2 separate regions of the Homo sapiens genome follow, and region 1 is linked to region 2. Evidence: promoter capture Hi-C in human tissues and cell types (Jung and others, 2019). All regions are on one chromosome and are shown on one strand. Each heading gives the region's core, a stretch centred on a gene start or on the middle of the fragment in contact. The rest is flanking DNA. Distances are from core to core; before and after follow the strand shown.

Evidence for each region. Contacts are between HindIII fragments. The study calls those that stand out against the background at their distance.
Region 1: a fragment that was not itself captured here is called in contact with the fragment with the promoter of KIF4B in region 2 in 4 of the 25 tissues and cell types used here (heart right ventricle, mesendoderm cells, spleen and 1 more).

The regions. Positions count from the first base shown.
Region 1 is chr5:155,051,389-155,057,383 of GRCh38, forward strand. No RefSeq gene overlaps it. Among named protein-coding and RNA genes, the nearest start is that of KIF4B, 41 kb to the left of the region's middle. The HindIII fragment of the contact is 6,048 bases long and covers 1-4,581 here.
Region 2 is chr5:155,009,500-155,015,190 of GRCh38, forward strand. It overlaps KIF4B (kinesin family member 4B), which reads left to right and starts at 4,256. Exons shown (of 1, transcript NM_001099293.3): 1 at 4,256-5,691. The coding sequence starts at 4,361. The HindIII fragment of the contact is 20,564 bases long and covers 1-5,691 here.

The DNA.
Region 1 (5,995 bases), core at 308-2,807, 39 kb after region 2:
TCACGCCCGGCTAATTTTGTATTTTTAGTAGAGACGGGTTTCTTCATGTTGGTCAGGCTGGTCTCGAACTCCCGACCTCAGGTGATCCGCCCAATTCGGCCTCCCAAAGTGCTCGGATTATAGGTGTGAGCCACCGCGCCCAGCCAGCATTAATCCTAAGGCTAATAAAATGGACTCTTTGTGACAATAAGATACCAAATTATAATCAGGATCTAAGGCCATCCAGACAATGGTTAAGTCACACACTCCTACAGGTCTCTCTGACTCAGTATGTTGGTTAGTAGACTTCCTTATTATAACCTAAAACGTTCCTTTTTGTTGACTTCAAATTTTTAGACAAAGTTTTACTCCTTTAACCAATTGCAAATTAAAGAATCTCTGAATCCACATACAACCTATAACCCTGCCTCCCCTTCAGGATATCCCACTTTTCTAGGCTGAACCAAGGTATACCTTTCATTTATTGATTTGTGTCTTTACCTATAACTTCTGCCTATCTAAAGTGTATAAAACCAAACCGTAATCCAATTGCTATGGGCACGCTTTCTCAGGACCTCTTGAGAGTGTGTTCCCTGGGCCATGTCACTCATATTGGTTCAGAATAAACCTCTTTGACATATTTTACAGAGGCTGGGCATGATGGCTCACGCCTGTAATCCTAGCACCTTGGGTTGCTGAGGTGGGTGGATCGCTTGAGCTCAGGAGCTCAATACCACCCTGGGCAACATGGTGAAACCCCATCTCTACAAAAAATACAAAATGTAGCTGGGTGTGGTGGTGCATGCCTGTAATCCTGCTACTCGGGAGGCTGAGGCAGGAGGATTGCTCGTGCCAGGAGGTTGAGGTTGCACAGTCATGATCGTGCCACTGTACTCCAGCCTGGGTGACACAGCAAGACCTTGTCTCAAAGATTTTTTTTTTTAATTGATTTTTTTTAAGAGAGTCTTGTTTTTCCATTAGCACCTGGGACAGTGAAGCTAAAAATGTCTGTTGTTTTTTTCCAAATTTTAATTTGTTTCTTTGGCTTGGTAGTAATACAAAGAGGAAGAAGAAACCTTGGATTCTGCAGGTGTGCTCAAGTTGGATATTTGCACATAAATGTAGACAAGCATCCCCTCTGGGAAGCTGGATATCCACACTGTGGATCCCCGGGCAATTTCTTTCCAAGTCTGTGACCTTGATCAATTGTCCTACTAAGTGTAAGGTACACTGCCAATATGTGACTTAGTCTCTTTGGCTGACAGGCAGTGCGTGGGTCTAGTTTGTGGCACAGAGGGCCTGGCTTAAGTCCTGCCTTTTTGCTCTGTGACCTTGGGCAAGTCACTTTGCCTCTCAGGGCCCTCACTTCCGGAGTGGAGATAGTCATTTCTGCAGTGCCTGCCTCTTGGCCAGTTGTGAGGCCCAGAAGCAGGTTGTAAATTGTAGTGTGCTATGCAAATGTGAAACATTAGAAGCAGAGTAGTTTGTTGGCGTCTTGACAAGATCTTGTAGGGGAGGAAAAATAATTTTCTTTCTACCTTCCATTGTTCTTAGTTGGGATTCCCTGTAACAAAAGACAGATAAACAAGAGTAAAATGAAGAGAAGTCTAATAACATGTATACCTCCTCTGTACAGGGGAGATATTCAGGGACATCTCAGAGCAAAATCTCAAGAGTAGATCTCAAAGAATTGTCTGAGGGTTCAGGCTTAAATACCATCATACCTCCCCACTCACCTGCTGGCCCCCCAACAAAAAAAGAAAGGTATGGGAAAGGGCAGGAAAAGCACTGTTAACAAGGGCAAGGTTTGTTATACAGACTTAAGTGACACCTTCCCCATTGATAAGAGAATCTAGTGATTTAGTAATCTCTCTCTTCCTGGGGCAGAGAGGGAGATACCCTTAAAATAGAGATCTCCTTTATAGATGCAAATTTCTCTTAAAAAAGGACAACTTCTCTTGTTTGCAGAACTTCTCCTATGCCTGCTTTCCCCACAAATAATCAGTTCACAATAATCCTTATGTTACACAGGCATATTTTGGGTTGATATATTCTGGTCATGTTTTGGGGTGCTGTGTCCTGATCCCCAACAACACAAACAAATGAGAAGATCAGTGGGAAAAACAAGAGTTCTGCTACAGGAAAACAGTGCTTGGGGGGCCACTCTGAAGAATATGTTAAGTGACAAGAGGAGAAGAGGATGGAGGGCGGGCAGGCACTGAGGAATGACGTGGAAGAGAGAGGAATGCAGCCAACCCTTCCAGGGACAAGAAGGACTTGGCTCTATTGCCTCTGTGAAGCAGGGACCTGTCTCCTTGGGGCTGATTTGTTTTATTTGGTGTGTTGTTAACCTTTGCTCAGTCCTAGGCTGTGGTTAACTTGGGGCCATAGGCAGGGGGAGAAGGTCACAGCAAATTTAGTGGGAGGCATTTTAAGTACTTAAAGCAATAAATCCTCATGTACCTCGAGCCTGCTCAGGCTTCCCTAAACCTGGGAATTCAATTTTGTGCAGCGTACACAGTTTGCCAAGCACACTAAGTCATTGAGAGAACAACTTGATGTATTGCTGTGGGGAAAAAAAATGCTGTGTTCCTTTCGTCATTCAAATTAGCAACTTTTCATACTGGGATGACAGGTGACTGATCACCTGAGAATATATCCTGTCTTCTAGTGATTTGATATCTCTTCCTTCTCTGTTTCCCTATCTGTATTTTCATGCCTTAAAGAGTAAAGAGAAAACATTTCTATTACAATTGCTATAGAATCAGTACCTGATTCATAAGCCCCAAGCCTCAGGGCCTGGCATATGGTAGGCATTAATAAATGATGAATGAATAAATGACTAGATTTGGTTGCTGTCTGCAGACTGCCCTGTTTCCTTCCCAGAGGGTCGGAGGAAGCTTTTGCTTTTTTTTTTTTTTTTTGGTGTGGTGGAAGCAGTATGCACTGCTGCAGTGCAGGACATTGTACGTCTGCACTGTTCAGACTCTCCTTGGGTAAGAGACTTATTGTCCTGGCTTCTGAGAATGGTGGTAGCCCCTTGAGGAATTGCCTAAGTTGCAGAGAGCTGTCTCGCCCAAGGTCAGCCTTTCCTGGGGTGTCCAATATCCATCGACTCATCCATGTGGGGTTGTAAAGAGCTGGCCTTCTCAGCCCAACCAAGGACAATTCTGAAGGGCTAATCTAGCTCTACACCTCTTTGTGGGGTTGGCTGTCATTGAGCTGGATCACAGCTTCATTTTCTGTCTCTTCTGTCCCCTCCCTTCCATAGGTGTTGACCCAAGAGCACTCATCAGTAAATCTCCTATGTAATAAACTCAGAATGGGCTTCTCAGCCCAACCTGTGCATTTTATTTTATTTTTAGATCCCACTCTGACTTTCTTCCTCATTGGCAGAAATACCAGCTAACATTTATTGAGTGCTTACGATCAGCTAGACACTCTACTTGCCTTGTCTCACTTAATCCTCACGACAACCCCAGGAGTGGCCGTTTGAATCTGCATGTTACAGGGGAGGGAGCGAGGCTGGGGATTCTGTGACTTATTCATAGCCACAAAACCAGTAAGTGTTGGGGCCAGAGCTCGATACCAGTTGAATTTTAGAGCCTAGGCTCTTAACCACTCTGCCATTCTTCTGGTACCCCTGCTGCTAACTTTAGAAAAAAATTACCTGTGTTCTACAGAACCTTTGGGGGAATATTTATATGGGCCCACGTTGTGGGGCCTCTATAGAGTTCACCAAGTACGTTAGTGTCGTAAGAGCTCTGAGACGTCCTACTGTAGGGAAACCTGTTAATGTTTTCCAAACTTATTTGACCACAAAAACACATGCAGTGGCCCTATTGACATCCTAATGTTCTGTGGAAAAAAACTTCGGGAAACACCGGCCTAAACTGTAACAGCTTATTTTACTTTATGCAGAACTGGTAAATGTTTGTGGGGTTACCTCCTTTGGTCCTGACCTATTATTCTGCTACTCTGAACAAGTGGTTTCAAATCTGTACAACAGGGATAACATTTTACCTCTTGAAGGTCACATAGTAGTCAAATGAGGTAATAGATACAAAAATTCTGAAAATCACTGCTAACTGCAGACAAGGAGTTATTAAGCACGGATGTTTTAAGATTCAGAAACGTTAAAGTGCCAAATGTGTCAAAAGCCATTTCTCACATAAAACTAGCTTTGAAAAATTTCTGATGGGAGTCAGCTCTACACGTAGGTGTGTTAAGGACTGTTTGAACGAATCATAATTAGAACACATGATGCATTAGAGTTAGGTCATTTTTGCAAAGGGAGATGTTTACTTATCAAATAAATTTTGAGCATTCAAATACTTTTTGAGAATGCTTATGTAAATGTTCATAGGAATAAAAGTAAGTGTAAGTGATGGACCCTATTTTCAAATAACTTAGTGCTTACAGCATATAGAAGGCAAACACATGCCTTTCACGTCCTTTTTTTACCTCGCATGCCCATCTCAGAACTTGCTGGTCAGTCACTGCACTTTTAACTGTTGAACTCAGATATAGCTGCAGAGCTGCAGAATTTTTTATTTTTATTTTTAGTTTTGAGATAGGTCTAATTCTGTCGCCCAACCTCTCACTGCAGCCTTGACCTTCTGGGCTCGAGCAATCCTCCTACATCAGCCTCCTGAGTAGCTGCGACTATAGTCATGCACCACCATGCCTGGCTAATTTTTTTTTTTTTTTTTTTTTTTTTGAGACAGAGGTTTGCTCTTTCGCCCAGGCTGGAGTGAAGTGGTGCGATCTTGGCTCACTGCAACCTCTGCCCCCCTGGCTTCAAGTGATTCTCCTGCCTCAGCCTCCCGAATAGCTGGGATTATAGGTACCTGCCATCACTCCTGGCTAATTTTTGTATATTTAGTAGAGACGGGGTTTCGCCATGTTGGCCAGGCTCAGATAATCTGATAATCCTGACCTCAGATAATCCACCCGCCTCAGCCTCCCAAAGTGCTAGGATTACAGGCATGAGCCACCATGCCCGGCCCTGGCTAATTTTTTTATTTGTACTTTGTAGAAACCGGGTCTCATTATGTTGCCTAGGCTGGTCTCAAACTCCTGGACTCAAGCAATCCTCCCCGCTTGGCCTCCCAAATTGCTGGGATTATGGGCATGAACCACTACGTCCAGCCTACAGCTGTAGAATTCTTGTCATAGCACTCTAGCAAGCCACTACTAATTGATCAGAGTCAGCTCATGAGATGAAACCTATTGCTACAGAAACCTGATGTATAGATTCTAGATGTGCAAACATAAAGAATGTATATCAAGGGAGAATGTGACAAGTGCCAAAAGAATTGTAAAGTCAGAGCACATAATACATATCATAGGCTAGGGTAGGCAGGGAGGGCTTCCTAGTAGAAGCAGGAGTTAAACTGGGCCCTGAAGGAGGGGAGGACTTGGATGGTGGCCAGGATAGAGCAGGCTGTTCTAGGACACCCCCACAAAGGTGAATTAAATCCCAATACCTAAAAGGTAGCCTCTGTCTAAAACCTTTGCTGATGATCTCATCACTGAATGTGGACACTGATGTTTCTTCATCCTAGATTCTAGAAGGCTGATACCTTTCAGAGTCTTTTTGACCTTCCAATTGACTGCCAGCATCCAGATTGTGATTTCAGTCTCTTGCCGAGTCAGAAACAGAGAACGCACGATTCCAGGAGCCCATAAATTACTTCTAGTTATTGCAGTGACGAAAGGCCTCTTCGAAGGTGACTTGCTCACTCCCTGTTTTATAGCCTCATACATCAAAGAGGAAGATGGAGCGGAGTCAGTTTCTATGACGAGATCCAGGCTTCAGGAGAAACGGGTGGCAACTGTCTGCAAAATGGAGCACTTTCTGTCAAAACTCAATTAAATTAGCCTTGATTCTACAAATAATAGGACAAAGTTTTCCTCCCCACACCCCTCCAGACCCCTGTACCTTCTTCCTGTACCTCTTCAGAAAATTGAGTTCTGAGTGCATTGCACTAGGAGACAGTTTGTAAAATTTAGG
Region 2 (5,691 bases), core at 3,006-5,505:
CAGAGACCACCGATGATAAAAACAAGATGGGTACTATGAGAAAACAAAGCCCAGGTGACAAGCTGGGATGCTATAGGTCACATCCATTTCATCAGGTGGCACATTGAGAGCCACCTTGACCACTTTGGTTTCTCCGGAACAAGCATCTTTGGCAGGAACCCAGTGGCAAAACAAACTGGAGTCATGAGGGGTGATTACCTTGCAACTGCTGCTTGCCACATTATCTCAAGAGTGATGCTTAGGATTCTGAAAACACCCTGCCTGGGGCCAATAGTACAACATTTAGAAAGACATGGAGTTGGTGCCATTTTTCCTCTTCGTCTACAACTCCAATAGATACGTCCCTTTTCCCCTTTAAGAAATGTGGCATTTAGGGTATTTAATTTAATTGGGTGGATTGGGTAGAAGTAGAATAAGTTGCTTTTCCCTGTCCTTAATTCTGTTAGGTAACCAGAGACCAGTTGGAACAAAACCAAATCTGATTTACCAAAGATAACATCTGTTAGCATGTTTTCTTCTTCCGGGCTTTTTTTCTATGCATGTAAATATAAATAAGTTGCTATGCTTTTACAAAATTGGAATTATTATGTTTTATATAGTTTGTATTCTATTTATACTTAACATTATATGGAAAGCAATGGCCAAATCATTAAGTATTCTTCTAGGACAGGATATTTAATGTTTATATAATGTTTTATCACAGGGCTAAATCACATTTAACACTTTTATTTTGGACATTTAGGCAATTTTCAATTTTTTGCTAATATAAGTAACTGTATGATAAATAGTCACATCTTTTCACACATCCTTTCCTTAGAATAAGGAATCTCAGCTTCAGAGATACTCCTTTTTAGTTCATATGCCAACTCTCAATCTTAGTTGCCACCATTAGGTTTAATTTCTCCCACAGCTTTTTTATGGCCTCTGGACTAAGCACCTCTTGAATTATCTCTGAACTCTCAGCAGCTTTATAGAAATAATCTGGAAGCTGACCAGCAGCTCTAGTTTCTGGGCACGTCTGATTTACAGATTTCCTAGACATGGGGCAGATACTGGCCATTGCTGACGGCTCCATAGTTTGTATGGGTAGTGTAAGCATCTAATAGGAGATGGAATCTTTTTTCTCTTGGCCTACTTCTATCCTCCTCCTCCCTTCTCTCTTCTTCCTCTCTCTCTCTCTCTCTCGCTCTCTGTCATCTTTCTTGCTCTCTCTCTGGAAAAGACAGATTGGCATAACCTGAGTCAGATACTCACATCTGGATCTGTAAACCATAGGCCAGATAAGGTGGGTTACACTGAAGAAATATAGCAACTTCTATAACCCTATGCATAATGAGAAGAAGAAGAAATTCTTAGAAAATAGTGACTGGGCAAACAAGGCAACAGGGTCCAAAACAATTGGGTTTGATAAGGGAGGGTTCTAATCTATGGTCTGCTAGAAACTTGCTGAGCCACTCAGTCTCCTTCGCTAGGACTCAATGTGCTCCTCTTTGGAATGACACAGTTGGCTGGGTGTGGTGTGCATACATGTAATCCCAGTACTTTGGGAGGTTGAGGTGGGAGGATCCCTTAAGTTCAGGAGTTTGGGACCAGCCTGGGCAACATGGTGCAAGCCCATCTCTGCCAAAAACAAACAATTGAACAAAAATTAGCCAGGCGTGGTGACATGCACCTGTAGTCCCAGGTACTTGGGAGGCTGAGATGGGATGGATGATCACTTGAGCCCAGGAGGTAGAGCCTGCAGTGAGCCATGTTCATGCCACCGCACTCCAGCCTGAGTGACAAAGTCAGACCCTGTTTCAAAAAACCAAAAAAAAAAGTAAAAAAAAAAAAAAAGACACAGTTGGACTGATTGATTCCCAGATTCCCTCTAGGTCCTTCAGTTTGTTGGTGGTAAAGCCAAGGCTCCAAACTAGGGCTTCTTCCTCATGACATATCTCCTCCAGCTAGCAGCCTTCTCCAGTCCATGCTGTTGTTTATGATGAGTTCCCTGGCTTCCACCTCCACTCCACCAGGCCAGAATGAAGACACTGACCTTTGCAGTTAACTTCCAAGAAAGATGTGTGTGTTTCTTGCTTTAGGCTGTAGGTGAAATATGAGTAAATGGAATTTGGGGTAATCATTTTTCCCTGCTGACTCTGTAATTGCATTGTGATTCCAGAACTCTTTTTCCTTTAGAGAATGTGAGATATTGGAAAGCCCTTAGAAGTCATTTAGTCCAGGAGTTCTTAATCTGAATTCTGTGAACCTCTGAGGTCTGGGAACACACTGAAATTAGAGGAAGAATGTGTGTATGTACATTTTTGAATCGGTAGAGGAGATCAATTTTTAAAGCCACCTTATTTTTAACGGAGATACAATTAAGATCTTAAAATGTACAGATTAAATATTCAATTTGATAAGTTTCCACGAATATATAACTTGAGCATCCATCATCCAAAACAGGACCTAAAACATTTTCATCACACCCAAAGGGCACCCCTTATGTCACTTTCTAGTCAATCCTCCCCTGCCCCCCATTCCCCCAGCAACCACTTTCTGACTTCTATTTCATATGACCACAGTTTATTTTTTTCTTGTTTTAGAATTTCATGTGAATGGAACTGTACAGTTTTTGCTCTTTTGTCTTGCATCTTTTGCTCAACTTTTTTTTTTTGTAAAAAGACAACATTTTTTAGATCAGTTTTAGATTCACAGCAAAATTAAGAGGAAAGTACAGAGATTTCCCACATGCCTCCTTCCCCCAGACATGTTATCAACATCCAGCACCAGAACGGTACATTTGTTATAATTAATGAACATACACTGACACATCATTATCATTCAAAGCCAATAGTTTACATTAGGGTTCACTCTTAGCATTGTACATCCTTGTCAGCATTTGATGTTGTCAGTGTTCCAGATTTTGGCCATTCTAGTAGGTGTGTAGTAGTATCTTATTGTTTTAATTTACATTTTCCTGACCAAATATGATGTGGAGCATCTTTTCATGTGCTTTTTGCCATGTTTATATTTTCTTTTGTGAGGTGTCTGCTAAAGCCTTTGGCCCATTTTAAAATCAGGTCGTTCGTTCACTTATTGTTGCATTTTAAGAGTTATTTGTATATTTTGGATAATATTCCTTTATCAGATGTGTCTTTTGCAAATATTTTCTCTCAGTCTATGGCTTCTCTTCTTATTCTCTTGACAGTTTTGTTTGAAGAGCAGAAGTTTTCGATTTTAATGAAACTTATTAATGATTTATTTCATGGATTGTGCCTTTGGTGTTATATCTAAAAAGTCATCTCACACCTGAATTCATCTAGGTTTTCTCCTATGTTATTTTCTAGGAGTTTAATAGTTTTGCATTTTACAGTTAGGACTATGATCCTTTTGAGTGAATTTTTGTGAAGGCTGTAAGGTCTGATTTTTTTTTTTTTTTTTTAACATGCAGAAGTCCAGTTGTTCCAGCACCATTTGTTCCATTTGTTGAAAAAACTATCTTTGTTTCATTGTATTGCCTTTGCTTCTTTGTCAAAGATCATTTAACTATATTATGTGGGTCTATTCACTGTATCTAAATGGTCTCTCTACTCTAATACATTGGCCTATTTGTCTATTCTTTTGCCAATACCACATTGTCTTGATTACTGTAGTTTTATAGTAAGTCTTGAAGTTGGGTAGTGTCAGTCTTATGACTTTGTTCTTCTCCTTCAATATTATGTTTGCCATTGTATTTTTTTTTTCCTCTCTATATAAACTTTAGAGTCAGTTTGTCAATATCTATAAAACAACTTGCTGGGATTTTGATTTGAATTGCATTGAATGGATAGATCAGTTTGGGAAGAACTGACATCTTTACGATATTCAGTCTTCTTATCCATGAACATAAAATATCTCTCCATTTATTTAGTTCCCCTTTGATCTTGTTCATCAGAGTTTTGTAGTTTTCATCACGTAGATCTCATACATATTCTGTTAGGTTTATACCTATTTCATTTTTTAAGTGCTAATGTAAGTGGTATTGTGCTTTCAATTCTGAATATCACTTATTCACTGTTGGTATATAGGAAACCAATTTACTTTTGTGTATTAACCTTGTATCCTTTAAGTTTATACTATACTCACTTATTAGTTCCAGGACATTTTTCTGTTGTTGGTTAAAAAGAAATTTCTCGATTTACCCTCCCCTTCCCACCGTGCTGGCCTGCGCGCGCGGACGTGCGCGCTCCGCCCTCGGGCCGCCTGCACTGCAATTGGTTGGTGTCTCTGGGAGGGATTTGAAACTTGGCGGTTAAAGCTCCGGCTGGGACAGGGCGGCGGGAGACCCCGGGTGAACGGGGAAGGGACATTTAGTTTGAGACGGTGCTGAGATAGGATCATGAAGGAAGAGGTGAAGGGAATTCCTGTAAGAGTGGCACTGCGTTGTCGCCCTCTGGTCCCCAAAGAGATTAGCGAGGGCTGCCAGATGTGCCTTTCCTTCGTGCCCGGGGAGACTCAGGTGGTGGTTGGTACTGATAAATCCTTCACCTACGATTTTGTGTTTGACCCCTGTACTGAGCAGGAAGAAGTCTTCAATAAAGCAGTAGCGCCGCTCATAAAAGGCATATTTAAAGGATATAATGCAACGGTCCTGGCCTATGGGCAGACTGGCTCTGGAAAAACCTATTCAATGGGAGGTGCATACACTGCGGAGCAGGAGAATGAACCAACAGTTGGCATTATTCCTAGGGTAATACAACTGCTCTTCAAAGAAATTGATAAAAAGAGTGACTTTGAATTTACTCTGAAAGTGTCTTACTTAGAGATTTACAATGAAGAAATTTTGGATCTTCTATGCCCATCTCGTGAGAAAGCTCAAATAAATATACGGGAGGATCCTAAGGAAGGCATAAAGATTGTGGGACTCACTGAGAAGACTGTTTTAGTTGCCTTGGATACTGTTTCCTGTTTGGAGCAGGGCAACAACTCTAGGACTGTGGCCTCCACAGCTATGAACTCCCAGTCGTCCCGATCTCATGCCATCTTTACAATCTCCATAGAGCAAAGAAAGAAAAGTGACAAGAATTGCAGCTTTCGCTCCAAGCTGCATCTTGTAGATCTCGCTGGATCAGAAAGACAGAAGAAAACCAAGGCTGAAGGGGATCGTCTAAAAGAGGGTATTAATATTAACCGAGGCCTCCTATGCTTGGGAAATGTAATCAGTGCTCTTGGAGATGACAAAAAGGGTAGCTTTGTGCCCTACAGAGATTCCAAGTTAACTCGACTGCTGCAAGATTCTCTAGGAGGTAACAGCCACACTCTTATGATAGCCTGTGTGAGTCCTGCTGACTCCAATCTAGAGGAAACATTAAGTACCCTTCGCTATGCTGACAGAGCAAGAAAAATCAAGAACAAACCTATTGTTAATATTGATCCCCACACAGCTGAACTTAATCATCTAAAGCAACAGGTACAACAGCTACAAGTCTTGTTGCTACAAGCCCATGGAGGTACCCTGCCTGGATCTATAAATGCAGAACCATCAGAGAATCTACAATCCCTGATGGAGAAGAATCAGTCCCTGGTAGAGGAGAATGAAAAATTAAGTCGTTGTCTGAGCAAGGCAGCTGGTCAGACAGCCCAGATGTTGGAGAGGATCATTTTGACAGAGCAAGTGAATGAAAAACTGAACGCCAAGCTAGAAGAGCTCAGGCAGCATGTGGCCTGCAA